Linked DNA regions of Homo sapiens: region 2 is linked to region 1. The links are contacts of gene promoters, found by promoter capture Hi-C in blood cells and fetal thymus (Javierre and others, 2016). All regions are on one chromosome and are shown on one strand. Each heading gives the region's core, a stretch centred on a gene start or on the middle of the fragment in contact. The rest is flanking DNA. Distances are from core to core; before and after follow the strand shown.

Region 1 (6,874 bases), core at 3,834-6,333:
ACAGTTTCTACTGAATGTGCATTCCTTTCACACCATCATGAAGTTGAAAAAGCATAGGTCAGAGACTGTCTTTACTATGTTTACAGTAAAATGTTGCCATATACTTAGGGGACAAGATATAAGAGGAACCCCCCCAAAATGAGGCTCCTTCATTGGTTACCATCTTTATGAAAGTTGGAAGTTTCTAGGGAAAAGGAGGACTAGAGAGATTGTCTAATGATTCTCAAGAAGCACAGCTGGCAGGAGTTGAAATACAAACTTCCTTCCTGTCTTTTTGTAAAGCAATTGGAAAAAATGGGAGAGTAAGAATTTGACATGTTACAGTTGTAGATCTTAGTGTTGTGAGGCATGAATGAGATAAATGTGGAACACTGGCAGGTTGCAAAAATGTTACGCAGATGTACAGCGTTTTAGGGGGGACTTCCCTGCATTTCTGTCCTGCAATGCAAGGGCAGAACCAAAAACTGAAACTTAGCACCCAGTATCCCTCACCTACCACCCCTCTGCACCCTCAGATGAATCATAGTCTGTTACAGATGCCTGTGGTGCATATTCCTGAGTGTTAGTCCCAGAAAACTAAACCTATGGAAACTTTTATAATTTAGTTGTTGACCTTCACAGCTTGTTCAAAAGAGAAGGGCCAGTGACTCACAATTATATTACAACTTCAGACCATGTGAATTTCTTCAAAGATGATGGCTTAAGAAGTGTTTAATTCTTGGCTCTTTCTGATAAACTCAAAAGAGTGAAGTCCTCATCTTGTCATTCAGGGACTAACCATCTAAATTTGTTTTCTTGAACATTTTTAAAACATCATTCCCATTGATCTAGTGTGCACCCTTTGTTCTCATTGGGCTGGGTTTTGGGACACACTTGCTCTCAGTCATGAAGTCATGAAATGAGGTTATGCCAATTCATCTTCCTGGAAATCTCCTCTGGCAAATTCAGACTGACTTTTTTCTGAGAGCCAAAGGCATTAATTACATCCTATCTTGTATTATAATTCTTTAAATATTTCACTCATAAATGTGGAAATTCTGCTTTTCTGAACAGATTATAACATTAATCAGTTTTATAATCATAGAATATTTTGTTGACCTTCACACCTTTTTCAAAAGAGAAAAATTATAGAATATTTTTCCTACAATGTGGATTCATATGTTTAATCACTTTCTCTGAAGCAACATCCTGAATATGGCAGAAAGTTGAGGCAGAAGAGATTAGCAATTGAATAATACTTTTATATGCTATAAAACAACATTATTTCTGAAAATAATTCATCATACATATCTACCACATGTGGCATATTAAAGGCAAATTTCGCTTGTCAAAATACATCAGTGACTCCTTAACTAAAATGAAAAAAAATCACAACTACATTGTGAAATATCTTCTTGAACTGAAACATCTCTGTATTTGTGGATACTGAGCAGGGAATTCAGTGGTTCAAGATTAAAGGCAAAAGTTTCTAAGGCTGCTTTTATCCAGTTCCAAGATTGATGATGAGAAACTGTTTGTTGCTCATACCTCACTTTTCATGATGTTCATAGCTGGCTTTGTATTTACTGTTTTTGAGATAGCTTACAGTATTAGCCACATTCTACCTGTTTGGGAGTGCCAAGTTATAAAAGTACAAAATGTACTCATAGCTTCCTTTGAACAAAATCCTAAGGTTATTCCCATTTCTGGAAATTTAGCTATCAGGTCAAACAACTGAGCTATGGTGAGCATCATTCATAAAATATAAAACATAAAATAATGATAAAAATCAAATAGATTGCATTGCTGGATGAACTGGCTGATTGCAACAGAATGACAATGTGATGCCTTACATAAGCAGTAACTAAAAACTGTAGGTCATCTATCATGGTGACATAATTTCCCACTGTACTCTCTTAATTTCACATTTTATATTGTATTTTGCAAAATTTCTGAGAAAAAGAAAAAGGAAACAAAGCTTTTGTTTAAGGATACATAAACCTCTATTTAAGTATTTATGTAGTGTGAACTTGTAGCTGTTGGGACATTTTCTTATTATGGTGTTTCTGTACTACCAAGTTTTCCTGCAGTAACAACTGAATATTTATTATAGTCATGATAGTCTTCCAGGATATACTCAGGGTCCTTTCAAGTAAGAAGTTTGGACAATTAGAATAGTATCCTACACCCAACTTAACGAATGCTAGCAGGAAACCTATATTACACTCATAGTTAGAAAAAACAGCGTTAATCTCTCATTTTAACACTAATATGCTGAAAATTCAATTCACTAAATTCTAGTGTTTTTATTCTTATAATTCTCTATTAAGAAAGCAGCTTTGCCAGTTTCTTTTCTTTGTAGTAATTCCAACTTTGTACAGTAAATCTTTTTGAAGATATTTGGAGTTTTTTTTTTGTTTTTTGTTTTTTTTTTAGAGGGAGTCCTGCTCTGTCACCCGTGCTGGAGTGCAGTGGCGTGATCTCGGCTCACAGCAACCTCTGTCTCCCTAGCCTAAGTAATTCTCCTGCATCAGCCTCCCGAGTAACTGAGATTACAGGCGCATGCCACCATGCCCCGCTAATTTTTGTATTTTTAGTAGAGGCGGGGTTTGGCCATGTTGGAATGCTGGTCTCGAACTGCTGACCTCAAATGATCCACTCACCTCGGCCTCCCAAAGTGCTGGGATTACAGGCGTGAGCCACTGCGCCCAGCCGATGGAACCATTTTCTTTAAAAAGTTCTCATTTCTCCTAGGCCGGGCACGGTGGCTCATGCCTGTAATCCCAGCACTTTGGGTGGCCGAGGTGGGCGGATCACCTCAGGTCAGGAGTTCGAGACCAGCCTGGCCAACATGGTGAAACCCCATCTCTACTAAAAATACAAAAATTAGCCAGGTGTGGTGGCGGGCGCCTGTAATCCTAGTGACTCCAAAGGCTGAGGCAGTAGAATCACTTGCACCTGGGAGGTGGAGGCTGCAGAGAGCTGAGATCTCACCACTGCACTCCAGCCTGGAGTTTTTTTTTTTGAGACAGAGTCTCAAAAAAAAAAAAAATTCTCCTTTTTGATATGATCACATGTTTAATTTATTTTGTTTAATGTTTTTATAATTGAATTAATAAAGTACCCAGTAAAATGCTATAAATCAATAAGTATTATCCAAATGAAAATAAATTGAAATTAAGTAAGACTAGTTTCAAATGCAGTCTTTCTTGAAAGAGTGAGTTTGGCCATCCTAAATTACAGTTTTCAAGATTGATCTACTTTCTTTCTGAGGCCACCATACTTTTGGTACTAGAATTAAAGTGTCTAAATCAAAAACACACTACATGGCTTCGCTTTGACTTAAAAACAAAATGCACAAACAATAAATTATAAGTCTGATTAACTGTATGGGTATTTTGTTCAATTGATTTAACTGCATTTTTTTTCCCTAGGATATAAATCATGTGATACAGCAAACTCAAAGATGTGGGACTCAAATGACACTTGTGAAAAACTGATACCCTGTTTGCCTTTAAAGTTATATTAATTACCACACTTTAGTAAAGTGTTTACTATTTAGAACTCTTTCTTCCTTCCTAGTTGGCCACCTGTACACTCCATTCCTCAGCCATAAAAGTAAATACTGTATATCTAAAACTGGTGCTGGTTTTGATAAGCCATAGTGATGACATCAGCCTGAGTTCCAACTCCTGGAATAAAGAACTGTGACCATACAGCGACTTGTGGGCAGTTAGGTCTCAGCATAACACTCCTTGTCCCCTCATGTCACTGATTTGGAGCCAAGGTTTGTGCTCCAATCTACCAAACCAGGTTAAAGAAATTACATTTCTATTTTCAAATGCAAGGGATTTAAAAGTATACATGGCGCACAAAAAACTCAACGTACTTAATGCCTAATGCCACTGAACTGTACACATAATAATGGTTAAAATACTGAATTGTATGTAATATATTTTACCATAATTAGGAAAGAAAAAAAACTGCGTTCACGTGTTTCAAAGGTTTTCCACAACTGTATAATACATATAGTTGGTTATACCTTTGTAACAGTGACCATATCGCTCTTTCTGCAACATCTATTAACCCAGACACCCCAGGGCCTAAGTAAGCATCCATTCTTCAGGAATTAGTAAACAGCACTTACACACGGACATTTCTAGCTAAAAGTAACACAGACAAAAAAACCTCAAAAATATCACGTAAGGGCAGGTGTTAGGCAAAGAGCCTCTGCAAACATCCCTTGCTCCTCTGCATTGCTCTGGTGTGAGGAGCTAGGACATGGAGAAACCTCTACCTCCTATCTCAGGATTAGCGAACCCTGCTTGAGTGCTACAAGGGTAAGTAAATGCTGGCCTGAAGAAGCTGCTGAGCTTCCGGATCCCACTGACTGTCGTTCGGGCACTTCCTAGAGGGTCAAGCACCATGGCGAAAGGCTGAGGAGGCAACTCGTATCTTTCATTCTCCTGCCTCATCAAGAATGAACCTTGAAGGCACCCATAGGTCGCGCAGTCTTTCAGAAGCTGCAGGAGGGCTGTGACTGTATGGGGTTGCAGACTGAAAATCTTATTAACGTGAAAGAGGAATTTGAAATTAAAAAAAAAAAACCCGGCCGGGCGCGGTGGCTCACGCTTGTAATCCCAGCACTTTGGGAGGCCGAGGCGGGTGGATCACGAGGTCAGGAGATCGAGACCACGGTGAAACCCCGTCTCTACTAAAAATAAAAAAAAAAAATTAGCCGGGCGTGGTGGCGGGCGCCTGTAGTCCCAGCTACTCGGAGAGGCTGAGGCAGGAGAATGGCGTGAACCCGGGAGGCGGAGCTTGCAGTGAGCCGAGGCTGCGCCACTGTACTCCAGCCTGGGTGACAGAGCGAGACTCCGTCTCAAAAAAAAAAAAAAAAAAAAACCCCACAATATCAGGCTACAGTTATCATAGCAATTCTGCTTTTAATGCACTCAGGACAAACTTCTAGCTCTGCATATATGTCATTTCAATGACACATCCTGTCTCCTACCCGACTAGAATGTGAGCAGCCCTGTGATCTCTATGTGCTCATAAACAGTGCCTAATGCGAATCCTGGCTCTTGGAAGGCGCTCAGCTAGTAAGTGAGGAGCTCAGCTCTGAAGCTGTAACCAAGACCGCGCGGGCAGGAGGAAAGGACACTTCAGCGCTCTGCGGTTGCAAACACACCCCTGCGGGTGCTGCCACTTAGCAAAGTCTTAGGTTCCCGCTTACTCGCACACGCATCCTGACTTCCCCCAACCCTGGAACTACCTACCAGGAGCGGAGACCAGCAGACCGACAGCACGCACATGATCCCCATAAGCTGAATGGCCGTCTCGGTCGTGATGCGGCCCCACTGGGCACTGGACTGAGATGCCGTGGCCTTGGCCCGGCAGCGGGACACCAGGGCCTTAATGGTGGCCAGGTTGCAGGAAAAGGTGACTGTCAGCGCCAAGAGCCCCAGGAAGGCAAAGGCAGAGGCGAAGAAAAGGTTGCCCCAGTTATGCGAAGAGCTAGTCCCGTTGCCCCCTCGCCCGGTGCTGATGAAGCACCACGTCCCGGGCCACTGGACGGTGTACTGGCCCACGCCCAGCACCGGCAGCAGGGCGAAGGCGAGCACGGCCAGCCACACGCCGAGCAGCACAGCGCGGGTGGCACGCGTCTTCATGTGGCTCGCATACCAGTGCGGCGCCCTGATGGCCAGCGCCCGCTCGACGGCCATGGCGCTGGCGATGAACAACGAGGAGAGCCCGAAAACAGTCATGGTCAGCCCGAAAAAGGTGCAGAGCCGCCCCGACGGGTCGATGTGCTCCCAACGCTGCTTGGACAGGTACACGACGATGACGACCGGGGTGGTGAGAAGCTGCCCGACCAGGTCGGTGAGCGCCAGCCAGCCGATGCACAGCAGGAAGGACTTCTTGCGCTTGCTCTCCCGGCGCCGGTAGCTGCGCGACACGAGCAGCATGGCCAGTGCGTTGCCCACGAAACCAGTGAGCAGCATGGTGATCGGGAAGGCCACGGACACCGATCCGCAATCCTCGCCAGACCCTGGAGGGCGCGTGAGGTTGCCCCGCGCCTCGGCGGAACGCTCGGGCGCCCACATGCCTGTGTAGGAGTGGTTGAGGCGGGTGCAGAAGGGGGCATCCCCTCCGTAGCCCCGGGTCTCCTTCATGTTGGCTTCGAGGTGAGGAGGGGATGGCGTCCAGAGAGCCGCAGCGGGAGGGGGCAGACGCGGCGCGGGCGGCGGCGGAGGTCGGCGTTTACCGCGGCTGGGGCTGGGCTGCCCCCCATGGTGCGGGGCGCAGCCGCCGCCCTACTCCGCTGCTGGGACCGCGGCCGCGGCGGCGCCAGGGCTCACTGGCCCGGGAGGGAGCCACGCCTTCCTCTCTGGGAAACCTCTGGTGGCGAGGCGCGCGGAGGTGCCGAGTCCCCTTTATAAGGCCGAGGGGGCGGGGCGCCCGTGGGTGTGGACAGAACCGAGGTGGGAGGAGGGTGCAAAGCAACTGAGCGCCTCTCTTGGCTGTTGCCTATCCTGATCGCCTGGGTTGGGAAGCCCCAGACGGTCTCCTCTGAAACGCCCTGCTCCTGGCCGGACCGGGAGCCCACTGGGGTCTCCTCCAGTTCTCCGCTAAAGTGTCGGTGGACGGCAAGCAGCTAATAAGTAGCACTGGACTTGCGGACCCCAGGCAAACTGCCGAGGCGCACCTGAGCGCTCGTCCTCCTGCTTCTTCAACCACAAACGCTCCTACAGGGACGGGATCCTTCTCCTGAAGTCCTTTAGTAACTCTGGTAAAGTGAAAATCGCCTGTCCTTAAGCAATCCACACAAGCCTTTGCATAGCTGATCGTTAACTTTTTTCCTTTCTGCTTTGTGACTCTAGAGTGATTATAA
Region 2 (6,696 bases), core at 3,391-5,890, 410 kb before region 1:
TTGGCCAGAGACCCCTAGTTGGTCTGGGTTCACACCATGAAGAAGGGGAAGATGCCCCGCCTGCAGGGGCTGTCCCCCACAGGAGGAAAGGGGGCCCCAATGAGTGACACGCTCACAGATGTGGATAGATTTTATTTTGGCTGTGGTTGACTGAGAGAAAATTGAAAAGGAGCTCAATGAAGTACTCTTAACTTTGTGGAGACAGTTGTCTCCAGAGCAACAATTCCAGAAAATGCCAAAGGGAGAGAAGGACATTGCTGTGTGACACAGTCTTGCCTGTGTGTTCCAGCTCAAATACTACGTGCTGCAGCCAGGTGGAAATGTAGAGCCTTTTCTGTTTGATTAGGGAACTGGCCGAGGTGCTTGGCTTGGGGGGGACACCAGATTACTGGAGGCCACGTGTGGACTGGTTCCTGAACCTGGATAAGTTTCTGGGCAAGGCTGCATAGACGGTTATGAAAACCAGCCAGTGAAAGTGAAACCTGTATCTTTGCACCTTGGCATTGGCTGCTCGGCTCCCTGCTTATGCATTGTGTATGTCTCTCCCATACCGGAATACATTCTGGGGGTGGATATTTTACATGGCTTGGCAGCTGTGCCGTCTATTATAGATCTGATAGACTGCTTGACAGAACTGAGACAGTAACACTATATGGTGGACTTGGATAATGCATTTTCAGAGAGCCAGGAACAGTTTGCCTTTATGGGAGGGTGACAGTAGACTTTCACAGTGTTGCTGCAGGACTATGTGCATAGCCCCACCGTATGTCATGGTCTTGTTAATAATATTATTCAAGGTTTTGTTAATGATATTAGGCTAACCTCTGATTCTCTTGCAGATTTAGAAGCTGCAATGCTCCTCTTGCCTGAGATTGAGACGGTGCCGCTGAGACTGCTGTCCTGGCAGCCAAGTGGGCTATTCAGCAGGCACAAGCCCTACGGTTAATTAACCAGGACATCCATTTAAACTTGATGTTCATGTGACCACAGATAGTTTTGGCTGAGGCCTATAGCAGCACATGGAGTGCTTGAGAATGCCAATAGGCTTTCAGTCCCAACTTTGGAAAGGAGCTGAATTCCAGTATTCATTGATAGAGAAGGAGTTAGTAACTGCATATGCTGCCCTTTAGGCTCATGAGAGCATGGCAGGACAGGCTACAGTCGTTGTGCTGATGACTTACTTGACAGTGGGAGGGGTGCATTCATGGATAATGACCCCTCAGGCTGGGATGGTGCAGACTTCCACTTTAGCAAAGTAAGGCACCTACTTAGAGCAGCGGAATACGCTGGATATAAGTCCCTTAGCAGCAGAGTTGCAAGAGATCTTGGGAACTGTAGTCCTAATGCAAGATAAGGCCATGGTGCCTGAGGCACCTCTAGACCCTGAGCCTTCACCATTTAAGGAAGGGTGTCCCCACATTCCTGATGAAGCATGATACACAGATGGGTCTAGCCAAAGTGCTGCTTCTGACTGGACCACTGTCGCAGTCCACCCTAGTACTGACAGCATATGGTTTGAAACTGGGTGTGGGCAAAGTAGCCAATGGGCTGAACTTAGAGCAGTATACATGGTGATCACCAAGGAGGTGACACCTATGTTAGTCTGCACCCATAGCTGGGCAGTTTATTAAGGTTTAACCTTGTGGTTAACTACCTGGAAGTTACAGAATTGGCTAGTTGATCACCAGCCCATGTGGGAGCAGGCCATGTGGCAAGACCTATGGGAGAAAGGATGACCTCATCCGACCAGGTATAGGGATGAATGGTAACCTGTTATTGTCTCCCCCATTGCCCCTAAAGGTAGGGGAACAAAAATCCTGGCTTAATATATAAAGCAACATTGGGGTAACGTCACCATGGGGTGGTTGCCCACATATGTCGGACCTGTGTGTCTGGGGCCTGTGTATCAGGCCTGTGTGCCCAGGGCCTATGTGTCAGACCTATGTGTCAAGCCTGTGCTGGGCCTGTGTACTCAAAACTGATGTGTCCAAGACCTGTATGTTCAAGACCTATGCCTCCCTCGGCCTAGGAGGTGGACTGTAAGGAAAATGGATGTACTGTGGTCAAGAATAGGCTGAGGCAGGTATCCAGTCTAGCATGACTCAATGAGTTCAGTGTGCAGGCACACAACTCTGCACATTATGTAACTACGCCATGCGGGGTGCATTATGTAACCACTCACATAAGCTCATGCTTGGTTCGGAGCCACTATTGTCTATAAAAGGTCTAATTACCCTGCTGATGCTGTACATGTGGTTTGTGCCTGGGTAGGCTTGCACCTAGGCTCACACCCATGCTTGCTCACGCCCAGACTACGGCTTGCATCCAGGCTCACTTGTGCCCAGAGATAGAGTAAAGCCATGTCAAAATTGTCTACAACTCCTCAAGTATTTTTCCAGCTACCCGCTGCCCCACTGACTCCCCTCAGACCTCAATCAGAACCTAACACTTGGTAGACAATACTGTGACTGGGTATATTTTCTATAACACTGAGAACAAACAAAAATAATTAGCTGTTTGCTTCAGGAAATATATATGCCTGGAATATAAAACTATAAAACTAGCTAAAATAATTTACTTACCAAGACAAATGGGCATCCCCTAGATTGACTTCAAAACCAGTCCACCATCATTATGTAATAAACTCATCCCATTTCCGTCTAGTTTCTCTCTTGCTAAACCTACCTTAAAGTCATCAAGCCCAGGTCTCAAAATCCTCCATCTTCTTCTGCCTTCACTACTAAGGCTTTGTTGAGCCCGTTTTATCTTTTACTGCAGGAAGTCTAGCAGGTTTAGCTTTGCTTGATCTACAGGTTTTTCCTGTTGACATTTAGGGCACTGATGATTGGCAACCCATGTCCACTTTTGATAATACTCAGCTGATGCATCATTTCCTTTGGTAAGCCTGAGGTGTCCTTTTAATTCCTTGCCCAGGTACAGTTAATGCTTCCCTCCTGTGCCCCTATACCTCCTTGTACATACTTCCCATATTCTATCAGAGTTTAATCCTGCTGTTATATTTTTTTGCCTTTCCTCTTAGGCTGGGAGTCTCAAAGGTTAGTGACTGTGACTTTCATCATTATATGTTGTTAGCACTGCCTTGTACAGAACGCAGGTGCCCAATTGATATTGAATTGTTGACTGCTGTATTGAATAAATGAATAAATGAACAGCCAGGTGCAGGTAGAGAGATGTACAATAAAGAGATCAGACAGATGGTAATTGCCATAGATTATCAATGAGGTAATGACAGCTGTAAGTAGAAATGAATAACTTCTCCCAAGGTGAATCAAATCAGGAGAGTCTGAGAACCACTGGGAAAATTCCAAGAACCAACTGAAGAAAAAAACTAGCCTTATATTTCCATCAGTGTTTTTCAATCTCGGCTGCACATTAAAATCAGCAAGGGTGTTAAAAAAATCCAACACCCTTTCCTGGCACCACCCTCATCCCAACATTCATTCTTTCTTTCTTTTAAAAAATGTTTATTTTATCATTAATATTATTTTTGTTTGACAAATCATAATTGTATACATTTCACCCCACCATTCTGATTTCATTTGCTCTGTTGTGGAATAGGGTATTGAAATATTTTAAATGTGCTCCTGAAACCTCTAAGGATCAGTCAAGGTTGAAAATCACTGGTTCAAGTGCTACTTCTTCTGTTGCTGTTTCTTTGACATCTGCAGTGATTCTCCAGGAGGTATCATTAGCAAGAGGACACATGAGATTCTCCTGCCACAGAAGCTTAGTGGAATTATCTATTGGAAATATGGTGTGATGGTGGGTCAGGTAGTTTAAAAATATATTAAGTATAATCAACTTTTTTTTAAATTTGGAAAACAAAAAATTATATTTTTAGTGTAACTCAAGTTACAAAAAGTAAATGCTGCTAGGAAAACCAAGCATTGCAATTTTCAATGGAGGCAAGCTCCTTTGGGGTTTCCTAGAACTGTTTTTCTTTTCTTTTTTTTTTTCTTATGGGAGGAGCTAGAAATTTAAATGTTTATCAAAAGCCGACATGTGTTTGTGATTGTAAAACACTGCTTTCACCCCTAGAACTAGAAAATTGTGTATATGCCCCTTCTCTCTGCTACCTTAGCGGCCTGTATGTACTTACTTTTATCATTGCACTTTTTACAACATATGGTGTGGAAAATTCTGCTTGGTTTTTCTCTTTCCTTGATTAATCTGTAGGCCCTTAAAGAGAAGATGGATTATAACCCTATCTCTTTATTCTCACATTTAGCAGCTAGGGGCACTCAACAGGGATTGACTGAAAGAACAAGGTCAAGTAAGGAATAAAACATCTATCACTGACTTGGCTAGGACACGAAGCAAATGAGGTCATAGATGTGAGTTCAGGCTGGAGCAGTACCAGATGGTTACTCTAAGATACTGTCCCATGACCCTGCAGCTGCCCCTTCATCCTAACCAGCTGCTAGTGTGTATTGGTGCATCAGGGAAAAATGCTGCCATTATTAACAGCCCAAAGGATTAATTGGGAAGTGGTGGTTACTAGTACCATTGTGTATCAAGGCCAACCCCATTTGTTCCAACCCCATTTGTTCTTCTCCTCTACAAATTAGAGATGACATTACTTTTCACAGGGTAGTTGTGAGGGTTGAATGAATGAGTGTGTAAGAAAAATATCTAAAGTAAAAATAGGAAAGGTTCCCATTATGGTCCCTTGAAAGAGAGCAAGTTCACCACAATATTGACATTTGGGCAGAAATACTTAAAAAACATTCAAGAATTGAAAGGGTTGTTGGATTTGATGGACTTTAAGGCTCCATCCCACCCTGAGATTCTATTTAATTTTTTGAAAAATTTTAAAAATAAATTTGTAACTTTATAAATGATGCATAGTAATGTACATATTTATGGGGTACAGTGTGATGTTTCAATGCATGTATACATTGTATAATAATGAAATAGGAATAATTAACATAGCCATCATTTTAAACACTTATCATTTCTTTGTGGTGACAACAATCAAAATCATCTTTTCTAGCTCTCTTGAAATATACACTACTACATGGTTATTTGCTATTACTTTACTCTTATTTCAAAGATAAAGATGCTAAAATACAGAAAGATAAAGAGATTTGCTAATTCTCTCATGATCATCCCTTACTCATCTTTTTGGGATTCAGCTAATACATCATTTATTCAAAGAGGATTTTTGAGACATCTATTTCCCTATTCCATGTTATCTCTCACAGCAGAGAGCTGTTATTGCAAGCTGTAACTCTGTATTTATTAATATGTTTATTTGTTCAATGTCTGTATCACACACTAGACTACAAAGTACATAAGAATAGAAATACAGAAATCAAGTCATTTTTCCCCAAAGAAGGATCTCAAACATTTGTTAAATGAATGAACATCAAAATAATTAACTAATTAATTTTAATGTATTTACTCATACCAATGTTTAAAAAGGATTAGAAGTGGATAAAGGGCAATGTATAATTAATTAACTCATTCATTTATTATGAAGATTATTTTTATTGAAACAATTAACCATTAGAAAGCTTTCGCATCTGCATCACTTCTTGGCCTTTTGGCTAAGATCAAGTGTAAAATTTTCACATGTGGCTAATTGTTTTATTCCACTACATCTATCATTATTTTGGCAACTTCGATATCAGTGAAAATGGTCAGTTCAACACTCTGGCCTCTGAGGTCCGTGACTTCCTTAGTTCTTTTGTTCTATCCCACTTGAGCTACCCGCAATGGACTTATTCCAGACCAGTGTTTTTCAGGCTCCAGATTGGGACCTATTAGTGGGTCTTAATAATTTAGCAACAACATTTTAAATAAGAATGGATCAGAATTAAACATATCAGGTATCAGAGTGCATTTAAGTGTAAGTATTGTTTTGTGAACGCTTGTGTATGTACATTTAATGTCTATGTAAAATTCCTTTCTGAGGATTGTGATCTAAAAGTTTGTTAAATATGACTTAATAACTTAATCACCTCTGAAATCTCAATTTTAATTTACTCATTTCTTCACTGCCCCTTCCCCTTGGAGCTCCCTTACTCCAATAGGTCCATTTGAACACTTTATTACTCCATGAAGAACTCACTGATCTCAACACTTTTTAGTTTTCAGTTGTTCCTCCTTCCTACTTTTCTGCTCTCCAAAGTCTGTCACAATCATTATAATTGACTGTAGCTGTTTGTTGCTCTTTCCTTCCATTTCACTTGACTGACAAAACAAATTCTCTGCTCACTGCAGACTGTTTCTAATCAGCCTGGAAAATGGCTGCAGTTACGGAGGCATACATTTGCCAATTGATCTCACTTTGAGTCTATGACAACAAATCTCAAGTGGGGCCTCAGAACTATCCAGCCATCTCCTCAGAGTTCCCTAACAAGTTTGCTTTCCATCTCTGAAGTGCTTTCACACCTTACTTCTCCATTAACTCCCCAATATCAGTTATGCATTTTCTACTCCCCTGTGGTGAACTCATGAATTTCTTGAGGAAATAACCACCATAATACAACTAGTTTATCTCTCCACTACTGAATTTTCACTGTAACCTCCTTCCTATACATATGCTCCTCTTTTTCTCTCACGACACTGAACCTCTTCTACCATAACCTAAAGCCAAACCTTCCACTTGCCACCTGATGTGTCCCCCATACATTTCCCACACTGGCTCTTCATATCCCTTTTTCTCAATCG

Evidence for each region. The method cuts DNA at HindIII sites, captures the fragments that hold promoters and counts their contacts. A CHiCAGO score of 5 or more calls a contact.
Region 2: a contact is called between a fragment that was not itself captured here and the fragment with the promoter of ZRANB2-AS1 in region 1, in 1 of 17 cell types (erythroblasts). The highest score is 6.5, in erythroblasts.

Annotation. Positions count from the first base shown.
Region 1 is chr1:71,041,423-71,048,296 of GRCh38, forward strand. ZRANB2-AS1 (ZRANB2 antisense RNA 1) reads left to right here and starts at 5,084. Exons shown (of 3, transcript NR_038420.1): 1 at 5,084-6,167. PTGER3 (prostaglandin E receptor 3) reads right to left here and starts at 6,394. Exons shown (of 4, transcript NM_198719.2): 1 at 5,259-6,394. The coding sequence starts at 6,155. RefSeq lists an enhancer at 5,808-6,391. The HindIII fragment of the contact is 6,286 bases long and covers 1,956-6,874 here.
Region 2 is chr1:70,628,838-70,635,533 of GRCh38, forward strand. No RefSeq gene overlaps it. Among named protein-coding and RNA genes, the nearest start is that of LINC01788, 74 kb to the right of the region's middle. The HindIII fragment of the contact is 1,790 bases long and covers 3,746-5,535 here.